Regions from separate parts of the Homo sapiens genome. Here region 2 is linked to region 1. Evidence: promoter capture Hi-C in human tissues and cell types (Jung and others, 2019). All regions are on one chromosome and are shown on one strand. The core of a region is centred on a gene start or on the middle of the fragment in contact, and the rest is flanking DNA. Distances in the headings are between cores, read along the strand shown. Region 1 holds the start of POT1 (protection of telomeres 1). Region 2 overlaps GRM8 (glutamate metabotropic receptor 8).

Evidence for each region. Contacts are between HindIII fragments. The study calls those that stand out against the background at their distance.
Region 2: a fragment that was not itself captured here is called in contact with the fragment with the promoter of POT1 in region 1 in 1 of the 25 tissues and cell types used here (lymphoblastoid cells).

Annotation. Positions count from the first base shown.
Region 1 is chr7:124,928,250-124,933,747 of GRCh38, reverse strand. POT1 (protection of telomeres 1) reads left to right here and starts at 3,923. Exons shown (of 19, transcript NM_015450.3): 1 at 3,923-3,954; 2 at 4,749-4,933. It overlaps POT1-AS1 (POT1 antisense RNA 1), which reads right to left and starts at 3,875. Exons shown (of 8, transcript NR_125719.1): 1 at 3,732-3,875. RefSeq lists enhancers at 3,639-3,933, 3,688-3,987. The HindIII fragment of the contact is 5,005 bases long and covers 3,050-5,498 here.
Region 2 is chr7:126,440,396-126,445,288 of GRCh38, reverse strand. All of the region lies in intron 10 of GRM8 (glutamate metabotropic receptor 8), which reads left to right. Among named protein-coding and RNA genes, the nearest start is that of MIR592, 620 kb to the left of the region's middle. The HindIII fragment of the contact is 6,136 bases long and covers 1-4,474 here.

The DNA of each region.
Region 1 (5,498 bases), core at 2,674-5,173:
GAATATAGGTTATTTTTTTCCTTGGACAATTCTTTTTTTTTTTTTTTTTGAGACAGAATCTTGCTCTGTCGGCCAGGCTGGAGTGCAGTGGCACGATCTCGACTCACAGTAACCTCTGCCTCCTGGGCTCAACCAATTTTCCTGCCTCAGCCTCCAGAGTAGCTGGGATTACAGGGGTGTGCCACCAGGCCCAGCTAATTTTTTTCGTATTTTTAGTAGAGATGGGGATTCACCATGTTGGCCAGGCTGGTCTTGAACTCCTGACCTCAGGTAATCCACCCGCCTCGGTCTCCCAAAGTGCTGGGATTATAGGCGAGAGCCACCATACCTGGCCCAACAATTCTTAAAATGAGTAGCAACTGAAGGAAAGACAATTTTTTAACTGATGAGGATTTTTTTTTTTTTTTTTTGAGACGGAGTCTCGCACTGTTTCCCGGGCTGGAGTGCAATGGTGTGATCTCAGCTCACTGCAACCTCCACCTCCTGGGTTCAAGTGATTGTCCTGTCTCAGCCTCCCGAGTAGCTGGGATTACAGGTGCCCGCCACCACACCTGGCTAATTTTTTGTATTTTCTGTAGAGACAGGTTTTCACTATGTTGGCCAGGTTGGTCTCGAACTCCTGATCTTGTGATCTGCCTGGTTCGGCGTCCCAAAGTGCTGGGATTACAGGTGTGAGCCACTGTGCCTGGCCTAGGATATTTTAAATAATAAATTAAAAAGATTTATTATTAAAGTACAAAAGCTTTTGAGAGACCTCTTCAATGGATAATAATGTTTTCTCAATTTGTGGTACCTAATATTATGTTTTAAAAATATCTTTATTTTGCTTCCTAGTATGCACTGAGTGATTACATGCTTTACCATTTAAATTTGTAACTTAAACATACATTTGAGAAAAAATTATGTTTGATTTATCTCCTGGCTCAGCTACATAACAATATAAAAATTTGATGCTTTATTGAAATAGGATTTTACAAATCCATTTAGATGTTCATTAGGATTGGGCAGAAAGAATATTAGACACAAGGAAATGAACTCCAACTAATGTAGCCTAGCTATTATTCCTAGAAAATCTCAGGAGTAAGAAGATGATATTGTCAGGCTCTAGAGATGCAACCTGATGATAACAGCTTGCAGGACAGATGGACTGCAAACAGGAATGGGTTAATCACCCCACAATTAATGCAAAGGAAATGAATTTGAAGTGCTGGACATGTTAGGCAATTCAATTTTACATGTAGACATTAACAAGTAAATAGTAAAGGATAATATGAAAATGCTATGAGAGGGAAGATGTGTCAGAAATTTGCAGACTAATTTCTTTCACGTTTGATTTATTTATGATAACTATACTGAATCCTTATATTTATACATCACTTAAAAATTACCCATTTTGCTTTTAGTCTTCATTATTTATTAATGAAAATTTAATTTTAACTTTTCTTAAAATGAACATTTTTACATTGCAGATTTTATATAAAAACTTTTTTCATTGAACCTTTAAAAGTCATAACTTCTAATAACAATTACATTAATTGTTAGCCTTAGAGTAGCTTTTTTATGCTGCTTCAACAGGCATAGAACAATAGTAATGGATTGTTTTGGCATTAATATGTCTTCATTGCCTTATTCAGTTGATTCAATCTCTTTTTTTCCTCTCTTATTATCTTAAATTGTACTGTATATTCATGAGCAATTTTCTTCATTTGTGGAAATTAATTGCTAATGTGAGGGAAAGCATTACAGGCTCTGGAGCCTCTGCCACTAATTGGGAGATTATGCAGAAGAAATAAGATTGGAAGTTACTTGAACGTGTAGGAAGTGTTGTGTCCCACAGGAACTGAGAACAACCACTTTAACAAAATAAAAGGACTTACGTATACCTCTATTAGACATCTTCATCACATTCTACAGAACATGGATACTTACAGGCTAAACAGATTATGAGAAATTTTAAAAGATTCAGTTGGTAGAAGGTAAGAGGAAAACTAGGACCATGTTGTAGCACAAAGAATGTTTTCAAAAATATGAGACTAAAAATGTCCTTTTGGGTTAGCAATAAAGAGTTCTTCAGTGGTTTTTCTAAGGGCAGTTTAAGTGTAATGGGGTGGTGGGGGGCAGGGGTGGGATGGAGGGGTGGAAGTCAGAAGTAAGATAAACAGTTTTCCTCAGCATTTGTTCATTCAACAAATATTTAGTACCCACAGAGGAGTGTGAGACTGACTGGGCAACATAGTGAGAACTCGTCTCCACAAAATTTTTTTAAAAAATTAGCCGGGTGTGGTGGCCTGTGCCTGTAGTCCCAGCTACTTAGAAGGCTGAGGCCAGAGGATAGCTTGAGCCCAGGAGTTCCAGGCTGCAGCGAGCTATGATCTCGCCACTGCACTTCAGCCTGGGCGACAGAGCAAGAGCCTGGGAGAATGTGTTTAAATGGTGACGGGAAAGAATGAATAAAAGAAGGAAAGCTTAAAATACATTAAGAGAAAATATATTGATGATGATGGAAGGGAGATGAAATTGGTCAGGGTCCAAAGCCCATGTGGAGGGCTTCACATAAAAAGGAGGAATAGTATTTCTCAGCCGGATGCAGCCAGAGATGGAAGGAGGATAGCATCTAAACCTTCCCTATAGTTTTCCTCAAATGGACAGCTCCTGAGTTCATGCACTTGTCACCCCGGCTTCTGCGTGGGATATAACTACAGGGATGGGGAGGGGAAACAGGAGATGGGCTAATACTGAATGCTTCCTGTTGATTAAAAAGGCACTTCAAACATAGCTGGCTGGGCACAGTGGCTCATGTCTGTAATCCCAGCACTTTGGGAGGCCAAGGTGGGCGGATCACAAGGTCAGGAGTTCGAGACCAGCCTGGCCAAAATGGGAAACCCCGTCTCTACTAAACAAATACAAAAATTAGCCAGGCATGGTGGCCTGCGCCTGTAATCCCAGCTACTAGGGAGGCTGAGGCAGAAGAATTGCTTGAACCCGGGAGGTGGGGGTTGCAGTTAGCCGAGATTGCGCCATTGCACTCCAGCCTGGTGACAGAGCGAGATTCCGTCTCAAAAAAAAAAAAAAAGTTAGCTATATCCTCCTGCAAATATGTATATAAAGAAGATATTTTAGTTCAAATTAGCCTTGGAAATATTCATGTAATTCTTTATTACATTTAGTTTCACACTAGGATGATTTCACTTAAATGATTGAAGGCATATATCTGGAATTAGCAGAGAATTCATGTTTAACAATTTATCATTATAAATGATAAATTATAATATTTATCAATTATAAGTTATAATAAATATTAAATAAACTATAATAAACCTATAAAATAAATTATAATAAATATTAATTATACCACAAAATCATGGCCCTATAAAACAATGACAAGGTTAATCAAATCTGTCTGTAAATAGCAAGACTCAATGGTGGCATTATGCCAATGCCCGAAATTACTATAAAAACTCCCAAATAACATTGTTATCCTTGTAAATGCTTCCTTGTAAAGACTGCAGTAGGTGCCTATTTCTTGGAGGAAGAGAACTGGACATTAAAAGAAAGGCTCTGCCTACAGGAGCTTCGAATCTACCAAAGGGAAGCTCAAATCCCGCCCAGCGGACCCGCCCGCTTCCCCTAAGCTTGCCTCCCGCCACGAAAGCTGGAAAGTCACTGGGGGCGGAGCTAAGGGGAGCTGCGAGAATTCCGGGGGATGTGACCGGACTGGGCGGGGCCTGTACCTTGGCCCTGCGCTCCCGTTGACGTCGCATCCTGTCAGTATTTCGCCAAACCTCCAGGCGCCATCAGTGTGTGAACCGTTACGCAGCTGGTCCACCGCGGGCGGAGAACAAGCGACTATGCCCAGGGATCCTGCACGCATGCGTGGAGCTGAACCGTCAGCGTGCGTGTGACGTCACCTGCGCGCCCGCCTAAACTCTTCCTAGGGTTCTTTCTAGAGTACGGGTGAGTGAAATTTGTAAGGTTTGGTGTGTTCATTTGAGTGGGTGCCAGACGTAACGGGCCCGGGATTGAATTAGTTTAGATCAAAATTTGATGTAATTATCGCAGAGAAACGCTTTCTTACGAGTGTTTATCTCGAGCCTGCTGTGTTCAGCATCTTTCTTGGTGTTTTGGGAGAAGCAGACAGGAGTTAAGTCCAAGTCCCCGCCCTCACAGAGCTCAGGTGGCTTGGGGGAAGGTTGGTGCGCAAACATTAAAATTAGATATCGACACTAGTGAGTGTCCCCGTCAAGAGGTCTGTGAAATAAGGTTGAGCCTACGATGCAGAAGTTAATCTCAGTTCAGTAATTTTTGTTTCTTCATTTATTTAGCGGGTGAAGGGAGGGGGCCACAGAAACATGTTGGAGTACGATGCTTTTGGTGCACAGTTTGTCTATACAATATTACAGCTCCCGTGGGGGTTAAAAAAAAACACGATTTTTCAGCCTCCCTCTTCCCCAATAAATTTTACATTTTAAAGCACAATGTTAAAAGCGTTTGTTAGTGACGTTACAGATCTTAAAACTGGCTTTTTGGAGGTACTTTACGCAGCTAAGTAGAAAATGGTTAAGTTTCAGTTCCTTGGAAGAATGTTTTGTATTGATCTTTGCAATAAAATTGTAAAATAATCCATCCTCCTGTCACCCCCCAACCCCGAACCGTGTTAACTATAATAAGGAAAAGCATAACTAAGTCAAAGAGACTTAAAGCAAATTATTGACTTCATTTTGGGTAAAACACTGGTTTTGTATTTTCAGCAGCAAGTTGTCAGATTCCCTAGTTGAATTTGCTTTGGACATCAGTGTGAAGCAGAACTGATATGCCACTTGAATTAATAAAGGAAGTCAATGGGGTGCCTGAAGTTCAGCCGCTGAGTAAATTACATAAAGTAGATTTCGGATCCCTACAGCCAGGTTACAATTATAGCAAGAAATATATTCAGGTAAGAATTTCTATAACTCAGAATGCTTTTTCCTACTAAAAGGAATGCAGTTTTTAAGTGTTGAGTTTATTTATGAGAACTGGTTTAGGTATGGTTTTTATCTTTGTCATAACATTTGAGATTGAATATTTCAATAAGTTATTCTTATTCAGTACTTATTTAGCGAACAATTATCAAATTCGTGTGTGAAACATTGGAGTAAGTTTCTGAGGTACAAAGATGAATAAATATAGTCCCGGAACTAAAGATAATCACATTTCTGTGGGGTCTGACAGATCAATCACCTGATCTCCAATTAAAATTAATAGGTGTGATATTAGCATTGTGATGTGTGAACATGAGAGAGCTTTTGGTTCTGACAGATCACGAAAGTTGAGCTGGAACTTACGGGATAACAGACTGTGCTGTACCTTCCTTTGAGGTAAAAAGCAGTCCTTATGTGCATGTTGAGGAATTTGGATATTACTCTAAAAGCTATGGGAAGTCTTTAGTAGGTTTTAGCAGGAGAAAGACATGATTTACTTTGAGTTCAAAAAACTTTGCTCCTAGGTAGAGAATATATTGG
Region 2 (4,893 bases), core at 157-2,656, 1.5 Mb before region 1:
ACCTTTACCTTACTAGGTTCTACAGATGAATCAAAAAAGAAAGAAAAGCAAAGGTACTTGTATTAGAGTGGCTTCCAGTCTTTTGGAATATAGCATAGGGATTCAATATTTGTTTTTTCTGTTTGAAACAGGAGCTTGCTCTGTTGCCCAGACTGGAGTGCAGTGGTATGATCTAGGCTCACTGCAGCCTCTACCTCCTGGGTTCAAGTGATCCTCCCACCTCAGCCTTCCAAATAGCTAGGACTGCAGGCATGTGCTGTCATGCCCAGCTAATTTTGTTTGTTTGTTTGTTTGTTTGTTTGTTTTGTAGAGACAGGGTCTCACTCTGTTGCCCAGGCTGGTCTCTAACTCCTAGGCTCAAGTGATCCTCCCACCTAAGCCTCCAAAAGTGCTAGGATTGCAGGTGTGAGTTACCACACCCGGTCAGGCATTAAGGACAAAATCCTATGCAAAAATATTCTCTTCCTCTCATATTCATCCAGCAGTCTGTATCCCCTACTCTCCATACTTTTGACACTAAATATAAGAAAAAACTAAAAATTAATTTTATTTGGTTTAATTATTATAGCAACTTATGGTCTACATTCCATCTACAAACCTTCTTTTCTATCAAGATTTCTAGATAAGCATTGTCTACTCTAATTTACCATACACAGAACTATCCTGTGATAGTTAATTAGCATTGCTTAATTAGACATATTGGTTTCAGTTACTATCAGCTTACCTGGAATCATTAGCCAGATTGGTTCTAAAAAGATTATCTTCGGGTCACCAATACCAAATTTAGTCACGTGTAGAGAAATGAACCTTACAAGAATTTCACAAACACCCTCCACATATTCACCTTTCTGCAAACATGAAACCTTGTGAAGTAAGAAATATGCGAAGCAAGGTAAGGATGGGCTTTAGTAACAAATCATTACAATCATCTCTGAGTATAGGTAAGCAATTTACTAATGATAAACCTATTTCGGCTCTTAGCAAAAGGTATACTGTAACTGCCATTAAAGGCATCAAAGTAGAATGCTTGTGATTTGAGGACAGAATTTTACCTTTTTTCCTACCTTGACAGCATTAGTGTAGGAAGTTGAAAGCTATTATAGGATGCCAATAAACTGCTGTTGGCCAGTGATGTAATTTGAACACTGGCACTTCTCACTATGACTCACCAGAGTCTATTGTTTTACCTGTTTTTCTCTTTTTTTTTTCTTTTTTAGCAGCAATCCAGAAAACTTTATAAAATATGGTTGCCAAATTAAAGAACCAAACTTATAGTGATATAAATACCAGTCATTCAGACTCACCTTTGGAAAGTGGTGGAGAAAAAATTTAATAAACTTTTTCACCACTTTAAAAGAATAAATACATGCCCTGAAAAACAAAATTCTCAGTATTGATAAGAACCAATCTCATATTATTGAAGTAAATCTCATACAGATACTGTTTTCCTTTGGTTATTTTCTATTAATGTTGAAATGGAAATTATATAGCCTGCATGTATTTCTCTATTTTCTCTAAAATAAGAATGAAAGATTGCAAAAACAAGGCCTATTTGGAGGGTAAGCCTATAATATTCTGGAGGAGTCAGATGCTCACGTTTAGAAGGTGAAGTAAAGTCAAAAAGTAAATCAAGATAATATCAGTTACTGCCTGAAAAAAAAGTTTAATTGTACTTTGGAGATTTTAGTGCATTGATCTTTTACAGGAGTATAATTTAGGTTTGAATAAGTTGGGCCGAAGTAAAGTGATTACAGTGTACTCATTCAGGAGAGAAAGATGTGTGACATCTTCACACATCCTTCCACAATCCTACTCCAGATCACCATTTTTAACCTTTGTTCACTTCCATGGCCATCCTACAATGAAAGGGTAGATCTGTGTTCAAGATTTTAAAGTTTCAAAAGCTACACAGAGTAAATATAAGTAATACGAAGCTGGATGGGAAACCAATGAGTGTTGTGTTAGTTGCTGAATTTGCAGACTATAGTTTACATTTTTAAAAAAGGTCAAGTGTTATTTCACAACAGAGTGCGAGGGGAGTTAGAAACAAAGTTGATATATATGAATTTTGCCAACTGTACCCAATTAACAAATGCTGTACATAGTATTCTTTAAGCTATGTTCATGAATAATTCATGAAAACAGCTGCTGCTGGAGGTAGATTTGTTTTTTCTAGCTTATGAACACAGTGTGATGCACACAAGGAAATTAATTTACTGTTGCTGTGCTCAAAAACTGATTTTCATATGAGCATATTCATCAGCACCGTGAAAAACATCTCCCTATGAACTCATTGGTACATCTCTGATTCATTTTGCTCTATAATACTTCTGGGATAAAGATTCTTGCGAGGTATCTGCCATCCACAAAGTTTGTCCCTTATCATTGCTTTCATGTTGACTAAATCATCTGATTCCAGAACCTTACACTTCCTTTTCTAACCAGTAGGAAAATTAGCATTGCTGTCCTTTTGTGAATTGTTTTCTCAATTCTCAATAGAATTCTACCATTTTCTTTCTAGAAACCATGTTTAAGAGTTCAAAAAATAATATGTTAATTTTTAATTAGCTACAGAGCCCCAAAGTTAGAAAGATCCTTAAAACTGATCTAATCCAAACTGCCATCTGTTGAATGGACATCTTCTGAAAACTTTATTGTTCAAGATCTATCAGCTCTTGCTACTCTATTTCAACCATAATTCTTTTTCTAGCTATATACAAATTTTATAACTATTTCATACATTTTAGTTATTGTTGAAAATATTGAACAGTGTAGGAAGTTGGATGACCCTTTTAACAGTCATTTTTATCACTCTTATGACAATTTTTCTCCACCTTGTCTGTGAAGATTATATGAAAGTCCTTCAAAAGCAGAACTGAAGGACAGATTTTATTTTCTTAGAGGAAATTTAGAGGCATACGAGAGTATTATATAAATTAAAAATAGAAAGTAAAAGTGAGTGATCATAGAAAATCATTGTGTTTCACTTCACACCAAACCAAATGTAACAAATATTTTACCTTTTGGAAAGGTTAAGTAGAAAGTAAGACTCCATTAGGTCTCATGTATGGTTCATGGAAAGAAAAGAAAATAAGGAAGGAAGAAAGGAAGGGAGATAGGGAGGAAAGGAGGGAGGGAGGCTGGTTCTATATTGGTTCTTCCAGACTACAGCTGTTCCATCCCGATCTATTCTGCTTTTGACCTTACAGGAACACAGTATTGTAGGTTTTGAACCAGTGATAAAACTGAGGCCCAGTAACCTGGCCCAATGATTTTTTTTTTTTCACGCATTTTGCAGGGAATAGAATGTAATTTAAAACCAGGTCTAAAGTCTACTTCCTTTGCAGGGTGCCACAATAATAACCTAGAAGGATAAGCAATGTAGATAAGATAAGCAGATATGTCAACTATTTTTAGCCTGAAGCTCATAATATTCAATGAAATAAAAAATAACAACAATGAAAAAAACATCTATAGTAGCACTTCTTAGGGCTATCTGAGTTAATTTTAGTGGTTGTGAACTTTGTATGAACTTGGTCTCTGGTAAGAACTTGTCTAATCCATCAATAGTGTCACTAAGATGGAATGAGTCTGATTGTCAGTTATTTCCGAGGAGGAACTTTACAATTTCTAGTCTTATTCAATGTTCAATAAATAAATTATTTTCTAAAAATCTGTTTCATCCTGAATTGGATTCATATATTGAAACACATACATTCTTTGCTTTTTAAAGTATCTTTTATCTTACGATTATTCATTCCAGAATTACATGAAAAAATAGGACATCACATTTGAATTTTAGGACAGAGATTCATTGCATCACATCTTTCAACAATACAAAGGAATTATTTGGATTTAGATTTATATTCTCCAGAAGCTTAGGCATGAGTATAAATTTGGCATAATATCTCTGTAATGGCCTTACAATAATGAGTTTTACTTTACAGTATGTTGGCAACAGAACAATTAAACATTTCTTTATTTGAGTCTTTATTTTCTTAAATTTTATCTTCATTTGTCTCCTTTTGATGAAACCAAAAGAAACCATAAATATGCATTGGCAATTCACATGTTTTCTATATATTTGATATTTTAGCATGTTTACCTCTAGAGTCTAAGATTATTGTGTATTTTTAAGTGGAAGAGGTATTCATTCTCATAGGACAGCTAATTATAATTACTTACCTTTCTTGGTCATTACATCAGCCTCTAAGAATTGAGGTCTTTGACTTAGGTAGTAAAAAATATTTTTTATATTTTGTAGGACAGATAATTGATCTGTTCTTTCATTTTACATATGTGCAAATGTAAAATTTTACCAAAATATTAAAGATTAGCACTTTTATATTTTTAGTTTTCTAGTAAATATTTATATACTATAAATGAGGCTACTGATTTTGACAGATTAAAATTGCTGCAGCATTTTTGTTTCTACTGTCATTTAATTTTTACTACAGTCATGGATTGCTTGATGACATGTTCTAAGAAATGTGTTGTTAGGCAATTTTGTCTTTGCGCAAACATCATACAGTGTACTTACACAAACCAAATGGTATAGCCTACGACACACCCAGGCAATATGGTGTAGCCTAGTCTATCTAAGCTACAAACCTGTACAGCATGTTACTGTCCTGAATTGTGTACACAGTTGTAATGCAATGATATTTGTATATCTAAACATATCTAAACATAGTAAAGATACAGTAAAAATAGAGTATACAAGATAAAAAATGGTATACATGTAAATAGGGAACTTACTATGAATGGAGCTTGTAGGACTAGAAGTTGCCCTGGATCTTTAAGTGAATGAGTGGTGATTGAATGTGAAGTCCTAGGACATGGCAGTACTGTAAATTTTTTTTTTTTTTTTTTTTTTTTGAGATGGAGTCTTGC